Regions from separate parts of the Homo sapiens genome. Here all the other regions are linked to region 3. Evidence: promoter capture Hi-C in 16 types of primary human blood cells and fetal thymus (Javierre and others, 2016). All regions are on one chromosome and are shown on one strand. The core of a region is centred on a gene start or on the middle of the fragment in contact, and the rest is flanking DNA. Distances in the headings are between cores, read along the strand shown. Region 1 holds the start of RLN3 (relaxin 3). Region 2 holds the start of PALM3 (paralemmin 3). Region 3 holds the start of NANOS3 (nanos C2HC-type zinc finger 3).

Region 1 (2,700 bases), core at 116-2,615, 150 kb after region 3:
GTCCCAGCTACTTAGGAGGCTGAGGTGGGAGGATCATTTGAACCCGGGAATTCAAGGCTGCAGTGAGCTATGTTGCCACCACTACAATCCAGCCTGGGCAACATAGCCAGACCCTGTCTCTGAAAAAAAGAAAAAAAAAAAAGTCTGGTTTCTGAACCAGCAGGATCAATGTCACCTGGGAACTGGTTGGAAATGCAGATTCTTAGATATGTTCCATACCTGTTGAGTCAGGAGCTCTGCAGGTAGGACACAAAGATATGTGTTTTGTTTGTTTGTTTTTGAGACAGAGTCTCACTCTGTTGCCCAGGCTGAAGTGCAGTGGCGCCATCTCAGCTCACTGCAACCTCCACCTCCCAGGTTCAAGCAATTCTCCTGCCTCAGCCTCCCAAGGAGCTGGGGCTACAGACATGAGCCACCACACCCGGCTAATTTTTTGTATTTTTAGTAGAGGCGGGGTTTCACCATGTTGGCCAGGCTGGTCTCGAACTCCGGACCTCAGGTAATCCTCCTGCCATGGCCTCCCAAAGTGCTGGGATTACAGGCGTGAGCCACCGCGCCTGGCCTGATTTCTGTTTTAACAAGCCTACCCAAAGATTCTGAAGCTCACTCACATTTGAGAACCATTACCCTGGGTTGTTGGGAGAATCAAATACATTACAGAGATATAAAATGCTTTGAGCAGCTGAGGGCTGTGGCTCATATCTGTAATCCCAGCACTTTGGGAGGCTGAGACAGGCGGATCACCTGAGGCCAGGAGTTCGAGACCAGCCTGGCCAACGTGGTAAAACCCCGTCTCTACTGAAAATACAAAAATTAGCCAGGTGTGGTGGTGGGCGCCTGTAATCCCAACTACTTGGGAGGCTGAGGCGGGAGAATTTCTTGAATCTGGGAGGCGGAGGTTGCAGTGAGCCAAGATTGTGCCATTGGGACTGTACCTCTAGCCTGGGTGACAGAGCGAGACTCCATCTAAACAAACAAACAAACAAATAAACAATAAAATGCTTACAGTAGTGTGCCTGGCCTCGTAGCACATACTGCACTGGGCGTTCACTGCTATTATGATCTTCGAAGAGGTCCAGGACCCTAACGTTGTGGGGATCTGGTTGTGTCACCTTACCCCGCCTTTTGGGATTATGCGTTTCTGGTCTCTGCAGGTTGGAGACCTTCTCGCCTCTCTGTCAATGATGTTGACAATAAGCTGGGCCACATCACCCTGTCCCTAGCGAAAGGTTATCACTTCGCTGGGGACATGAGAAAGGTCGGGTTGGGGGGGCCGTGCCTGTCTCCCCTCTGCTGGAGAAGATAAGGGAGGCACTCAGCTTTCTTCAGGCAGAGTGTGGGGGAGCCACGATGTATAAATGGGGGGCCAAGAGGCAGCAGAGACACTGGCCCACTCTCACGTTCAAAGCATCTCCGTCCAGCATGGCCAGGTACATGCTGCTGCTGCTCCTGGCGGTATGGGTGCTGACCGGGGAGCTGTGGCCGGGAGCTGAGGCCCGGGCAGCGCCTTACGGGGTCAGGCTTTGCGGCCGAGAATTCATCCGAGCAGTCATCTTCACCTGCGGGGGCTCCCGGTGGAGACGATCAGACATCCTGGCCCACGAGGCTATGGGTGAGGCTGGGGAGAGAGTGGATGTAGAAGGGGAACAGGTGGCTGGATGGGTCCCAGGAGCTAAGGACAGAGATAAGAGGAGGTTGCTGGAGGAGGAGGGTCCCTGTCCTGCCACATTCAGCCAGGGACACCTGCCCAGCCTTGAAACAAGGGCTCAGGAGTTAGCAGAGCTGCAGAGCTGGGATGGGGTGTTGCAAGCCATCCATGGGGGCTGGAAGTCTGAGGACAGGTGGGGGCGGGGAGCGTGCCATTTGCAAAGACAACACCGAAGTGTTTTCCAACCCTTTCCAGCAGGTAATGTGAAGGGTGTGGTATACACATAGCTGGGTTTGTCACCTAATGCATGACCTCTCCCCAGCAAGTTGGTTTTTCTTCCGTCTCTGAGTGTCTTTTTTTTGGAGATGTGGTCTCACTCCATTGCCCAGGCTTGAATGCAGTGGCCCAATCACTGCTCATTGCAGCCTCGACCTCCCAGGCTCAAGTGATTCTCCTGCCTCCGCCTCCAGAGTAGTTGAGACCACAGGCACCTGACACCATGCCTGGCTAGTTTTAAATTTTTTTTTTGTAGAAACAGGGGTCTCACTATGTTGCCTAGGCTGGTCTCGAACTCCTGGGCTCAAGTGATCCTCCCACCTCGGCCTCCCTAAGTGCTGAGATTAGAGTCTCTGAGTGTCTTTATCTTCAAATGGGAGACACAGTTCCTGAATCTTGCAGGATTAAGTGGTATGATTAAATCAAAACAGATTAGGGCAGAGTCTCAGCAGGGCAGCGGCACAATCTGGGATCCATCAGGAGAGTCAGAGGGAACAGAAGACCTAGCTTCATGAGGGGCAGGGACCTGGCAAATAGATATTCATGATGGTGAGAAGGAGGATAGGTATGAGCGTGGACATAGAAGACACACCACTTGGATTCAGATAGTAGCTCTACAATGTAATAGTTGTGTGTTCATGTGCTACTATTTTTTTTTTTTTTGAGACAGAATCTCATTCTGTTGCCCAGGCTGGAGTGCAGTGGTGCAATCTTGGCTCACTGTAACCTCCATCACCTGGGTTCAAGCGATTCTCGTGCCTCCAGCCTCCCAAGTA
Region 2 (2,700 bases), core at 157-2,656, 180 kb after region 3:
GGGTGGGGGTGCAGGTCTAGGAATCCCCATCAAGGTAGCTAAGAGAGCAGCCTGGAGACCCTGAATGCTGTTTGGGGCAAGGAATTGAAGTCATGCTCTTTCTTTTTTTGAGTCGGAGTCTCGCTCTGTCACCCAGGCTGGAGTGCAATGGCTCAATCTCAGCTCACTGCAACCCCCGCTTCCTGGGTTCAAGTGATTCTCCTGCCTCAGCCTCCTGAGTAGCTGAGATTACAGGCGTGCACCACCAAGCCCGGCTAATTTTTGTATTTTTAGTACAGATGGGGTTTCACCATACTGGCCAGGCTGGTCTCGAACTCCTGACCTCAGGTGATCTGCCCGCCTCGGCCTCCCAAAGTGCTGGGATTACAGGCGTGAGCCACCGTGCCCGGCCACGAAGTCATGCTTTGCAAGATATCCCAAAGGAAGCCCAGATTCTGTGCTTATAGGTTTGCCCCTGGGGGAGGGCTGAAGTCCCGTGGTCTCCTGTACCACCCCCAAGATGTAATCTCCCTGCCTCTTCCTTGCTGGGGGGGATCGGGTTCCCATTGCTAAGCAACCAGGTTTGTAGTTGGTGAATAATGCAATGGAGGACCTAGAAGGGTGAGGAACCGAATTGGGGTCCCTAGTGTGGGGGGAAGCCCCTTTTCCAAAACTCTTTCCAAACCTCTGAAGCCCCCTCTACCCTTTTAACCTTAAAAAACTCTCACCCCTCAGCTATGAAAAGACTTCACACACCCCATTCCATCTTGCTTATCTCTAACTAACTCTGGAAGAACAACGTAGGCGGCCTGGGCTTCTGGCCACCCGCAAGAGTTGGTGGCCATTTCATGAAGGAGGTCATCCTTGCAATGTTGCCATTGTCTTTCTCAGGCTGGGAGCTTTTAACTTCTGTTGGATCTCAAGCCTTTTCTCCCACCTTGGACACTGACTTTAGGGGCAAAACGTGGAACCCAGTGACCCTGACCTTCCCCACTCCCTGCACCACAGCAGTAGCCCCACCCCCTGGCTGGACTTTGGGTTCTCAGCCCTGGCAGCGGAAAATCCCCGAAGAGGAAGGGGCAGGGGGAGCCTATATCTCTCTCCCACCCCTTGACTCTTTAAGGAAGGGTGACACTGATGAGCCTATGGGGTTGGCTAGCCAACCCCTCCACTCCCCGGGTCCCCTTAGGAGAGACCACTGGAGCTCTCGGCTCCCAGACAAGGCCAGCATCCCCCATGAGCCCCTCCCAAGGCCCTGCCCACCAGCCCCCCTGACCCCCCAGACACTTACATGGGTGTGGCCAGAGACCACACCTGGCTCTGCAGGGCCATCTCTGCCCAGAAGTTCACTTTCTGGTCTCCGAGTTCTGGACCCACCACCCGCTTGCCTGAAGGTGCCCCGGAGGCTGTGACTTGGCTGCCTGGAGTGGGGGGGGGCTGCGGGCGGGCACCGGGAGAGCAGGTCCAGCGGGTTTGGGCCAGGGAGGCGGTAGGCACACCAGAGAGGGGGGCTGGGGGCTGGAGGGCAGTTCTGGGGAGGTACTATCAGCTGTCCTGATAAATTATTCACCAGCCTCTGGCCTCTTTGTTGCACTCAGCTGCCTCCCGGAAAACACTTTCACACACGCGTGGTCAAGCGTGGGGGTGAGAGTACTGAGTCGGTGACTCCCCCTGCCACCAGAGAATGGCATTTCTACTTGGCACCCCAATCATCTTGAGTCTGACTGCCTGCCAAGACTCACCCACAGGAGAGCACCATTGCATAGCACACAGGCTGGAGACTGTTTTATTTTTTTAGAGATGGGGGTCTCACTCTGTTGCCCAGGCTAAAATGTAGTAGTGCGATCATAGCTCACTGCAGTTTCAGACTCCGGGGCGCAAACAATCCTCCCTCCTCGGCTTCTCAAAGTGCTGGGATTACAGGCATGAGCCACCACATCTGGCAGATAACATTTTTTAAAATTATTTTTTAAGAACAGGCACAGTGGTGCATATGTGTAATCCTAGCACTTTGGGAGGCCCAGGTGGGTGGATCACCTGAGGGCGGAGTTCGAGACTGGTCTGACCAACATGGTGAAACCCCGTCTCTGCTAAATACAAAAAAAAACTTAGCCGGGCATGGTGGTGCATGCCTGTAACCTCCGCTACTTGGGAGGCTGAGGCAGAAGAATCACTTGAACCCAGGTGGCAGAGGTTGCAGTTAGCCAAGATCGCACCATTGCACTCCAGCCTGGGCAACAAGAGCAAAACTCTGTCTAAAAAAAAAAAAATTACTTTTTGAGCCAGGCACGGTGGCTCACGCCTGTAATCCCAGCACTTTGGGAGGCCGAGGTGGGCGGATCACGAGGTCAGGAGTTTGAGACCAGCCTGGCCAACATGGAGAAAGCCTGCCTCTGCTAAAGATACACATTAGCCAGGTGTGGTGGCACACCTGTAGTCCTAGCTACTCGGGAGGTTGAGGCAGGAGAATTGCTTGTACCCAGGAGGCGGAGATTGCAGGGAGCTGAGATCATGCCACTGCACTCCAGCCTGGGTGACGGAGCAAGACTCCGTCTGAAAAAAAAAAATTACTTTTTGATCGTGGTAAAATACACATAACAAAATTTACCATTAGTGGCATTTAGTATGTTCACAATATTATGCAATCCTCACCACTGGTTCAGAATATTTTCATCAACCCAAAAGGAAGTGATCACTACTCATTCCCCTGCCTCCCGTGCC
Region 3 (2,700 bases), core at 10-2,509:
CGGCACAGCGTCTCTCCTCTGTGTCCAAGTCCTGAGCACACCCTCCCCTCCTGGGACTGAGCTGAGATCTCATCTCGGGGAGGACACTGAAGACCTGTAGGTACTAGGGGTCCCCTCCTAACAGCCCAACTTGCTATCCCCCACCTCCCAACTCCAGAGGGTTCTTTCTCACCCCTCTGCAGCCCCCGCCAGGAAAGGGCTCCCTCCCCAGCACCTAGCCTCAGGGGGCCCCAGTAACTAGAAGAAGGAGGCAGATGTGGTGCTTTTTGTTGTTGTTGTTTTGAGACAGAGTCTTACTCTGTTTCCCAGGCTGGAGTGCAGTGGCTTGATCTTGGCTCACCGCAACCTCTGCCTCCTGGGTTCAAGCAATTCTTCTGCCTCAGCCTCCTGAGTAGCTGGGATCACAGGCACCCGCCACCATGCCCAGCTAATTTTGTGTGTGTGTGTGTGTGTGTGTGTATTTTTAGTAGAGACAGGGTTTCACCATGTTAGCCAGGCTGGTCTCGAACTCTTGACCTCAGGTGATCCGCCTGTCTTGGCCTCCCAAACTGTTGGGATGACAGGCATGAGCCACCACTCCCTGGCCTGGTGCATGTCTTTATAAATAACTGGATGGGCAGGTGGCTTCACACCTCAGTTTGCTCATCCATTCAATGGGGGTTCCACTAAGACAACCGATGTGAAAACTCTTGGAGGGAGACCAGAGCTGGGGGCCGGGGGGCATGATCCTTCCCCCCTACCCCCGCAACCAGCCCATGAGCCTGGGACTACCACACTCCTTTCAGAGACAGCTGGAGCATCAGCAACCTCCCGCCTGGACACACACACACACAAAGAACCCAGGGGCACCTGGCCACTCCCCCGCCCAGGGGAAGGAAGAAAAAGTTATAAAGAAGTTACTAAGTTAACTTCTTTAAGTTACTGGTAACTGCTAGTCTTTGGGGGTGGGGTTTCCAACCCATTCTCCCCATCCTCCAGTGGGGCTGGAGGGCTAAGGACTCCTACAAGGAGGGGAGGCAGGGTAGCCCCCCAATTCCCTGGAGGTGTGTACGGGGGGCTGTGGTGCACCTCGCAGGATGCCCCCCCACACACCCTGTGTCCTGTAGTCCCCCGGCACAGCCAGAGGCCATACAGCCCTTTAGGAGGAGTATTAGTGGGGCACCAGGCCCCCCTGTGACAATAAGGAACCTCCCACAGCCTGCTCCTCCCTCTTCACACCCCCTTGGAGGTAAAAGGAGGGTCGGCCAGCACAGACTCCCAGGCTCCAGAGAGGGGAAGGAAGGGGCAGCAGAGAGGGGTCAGAAGGAGGGAGCTTAAGCCAGGCAGGGTTACTTGTCTCTGTGACTCCTTCCGCCTGGCACATGCTGCCCAGCTATGGGGACCTTTGACCTGTGGACAGATTACCTGGGTTTGGCACACCTGGTTAGGGCTCTGAGTGGGAAAGAGGGTCCTGAAACCAGGCTGAGCCCCCAGCCAGAGCCAGAGCCAATGCTGGAGCCGGTGTCAGCCCTGGAGCCGATGCCAGCGCCGGAGTCGGTGCCAGTGCCGGGACCCAAGGATCAGAAGCGCAGCCTGGAGTCCTCGCCAGCTCCCGAACGCCTGTGCTCTTTCTGCAAACACAACGGCGAGTCCCGGGCCATCTACCAGTCCCACGTGCTGAAGGACGAGGCTGGCAGGGTGCTGTGTCCCATCCTGCGGGACTACGTGTGTCCCCAGTGCGGCGCCACACGTGAGCGCGCCCACACCCGACGCTTCTGCCCACTTACTGGCCAGGGCTACACCTCCGTCTACAGCCACACCACCCGAAACTCGGCAGGCAAGAAGCTGGTCCGGCCTGACAAGGCGAAGACACAGGACACAGGCCACCGCCGAGGAGGAGGAGGAGGAGCAGGTGCCTGCACAGGTGGCTGGGGGGGACCTGTCCGAGGGTAGTGGCTGAGCCCCCCTGTGAAGTAAGATTAGCCCCAGTACCCACCTCCAAGGGTTAGGGGAAGACCTTAGAGAGAGCTTAGAACAGCAGTTGATTTTATTTACGTATTTATTTATTTATCTTGAGACAGGTCTCTTTCTGTTGCTCAGGCTGGAGTGCAGTGGCGCCATCTCGGCTCACTGCAACCTCCACCTCCTGGATTCAAGCGATTCTCCTGCCCCAGCTTCCTGGGTAGCTGGGATTATAGGCGCGCGCCACCACACCCGGCTAATTGCCACCATGCCCGGCTAAATTTTGTATTTTTAGTAGAGATGGGGTTTCACCATGTTGGCCAGGCTGGTCTCAAAACTCCTGATCTCGTGATCCGCCCACCTCGGCCTCCCAAACTGCTGAGATTACAGGCGTGAGCACCGCACCGAGCCAGTTTGTTTATGTATTTATTTATTTATCTTGAGACAGAGTCTCTTTCTGTCACCCAGGCTGGAGTGCAGTGGCATGATCTTGGCTCACTGCAACCTCTGCCTTCCGGGTTCAAGCGATTCTTCTGCCTCAGCCTCCTGAGAAGCTGAGATTACAGGCGCCTGCCACCATGGCCAGCTAATTTTTGTATTTTTAGTAGAGATGGGGTTTCACCATGTTGGCCAGGCTGGTCTCGAACTCCCAACCTCGTGATCCACCCTCCTCAGCCTCCCAAAGTGCTGGGATTACAGGCATCAGCCACCACATCTGGCCCGCAGGGTTATTATAGATGCAGAAAGAAGACTTTTATT

What was found. The method cuts DNA at HindIII sites, captures the fragments that hold promoters and counts their contacts. A CHiCAGO score of 5 or more calls a contact.
Region 1: the fragment with the promoter of RLN3 here is called in contact with the fragment with the promoter of NANOS3 in region 3 in 16 of 17 cell types (total CD8 T cells, naive CD4 T cells, M0 macrophages and 13 more); the score reaches 16.0 in total CD8 T cells.
Region 2: the fragment with the promoter of PALM3 here is called in contact with the fragment with the promoter of NANOS3 in region 3 in 17 of 17 cell types (total CD8 T cells, naive CD4 T cells, activated CD4 T cells and 14 more); the score reaches 14.6 in total CD8 T cells.

What each region holds. Positions count from the first base shown.
Region 1 is chr19:14,026,783-14,029,482 of GRCh38, forward strand. RLN3 (relaxin 3) reads left to right here and starts at 1,366. Exons shown (of 2, transcript NM_080864.4): 1 at 1,366-1,612. The coding sequence starts at 1,423. RefSeq lists an enhancer at 2,143-2,192. The HindIII fragment of the contact is 35,410 bases long and covers 1-2,700 here.
Region 2 is chr19:14,060,670-14,063,369 of GRCh38, forward strand. PALM3 (paralemmin 3) reads right to left here and starts at 1,407. Exons shown (of 7, transcript NM_001145028.2): 1 at 1,271-1,407. The coding sequence starts at 1,311. RefSeq lists an enhancer at 1,348-1,902. The HindIII fragment of the contact is 17,434 bases long and covers 1-2,700 here.
Region 3 is chr19:13,875,875-13,878,574 of GRCh38, forward strand. It overlaps NANOS3 (nanos C2HC-type zinc finger 3), which reads left to right and starts at 1,260. Exons shown (of 2, transcript NM_001098622.3): 1 at 1,260-1,891. The coding sequence starts at 1,375. The HindIII fragment of the contact is 10,444 bases long and covers 1-2,700 here.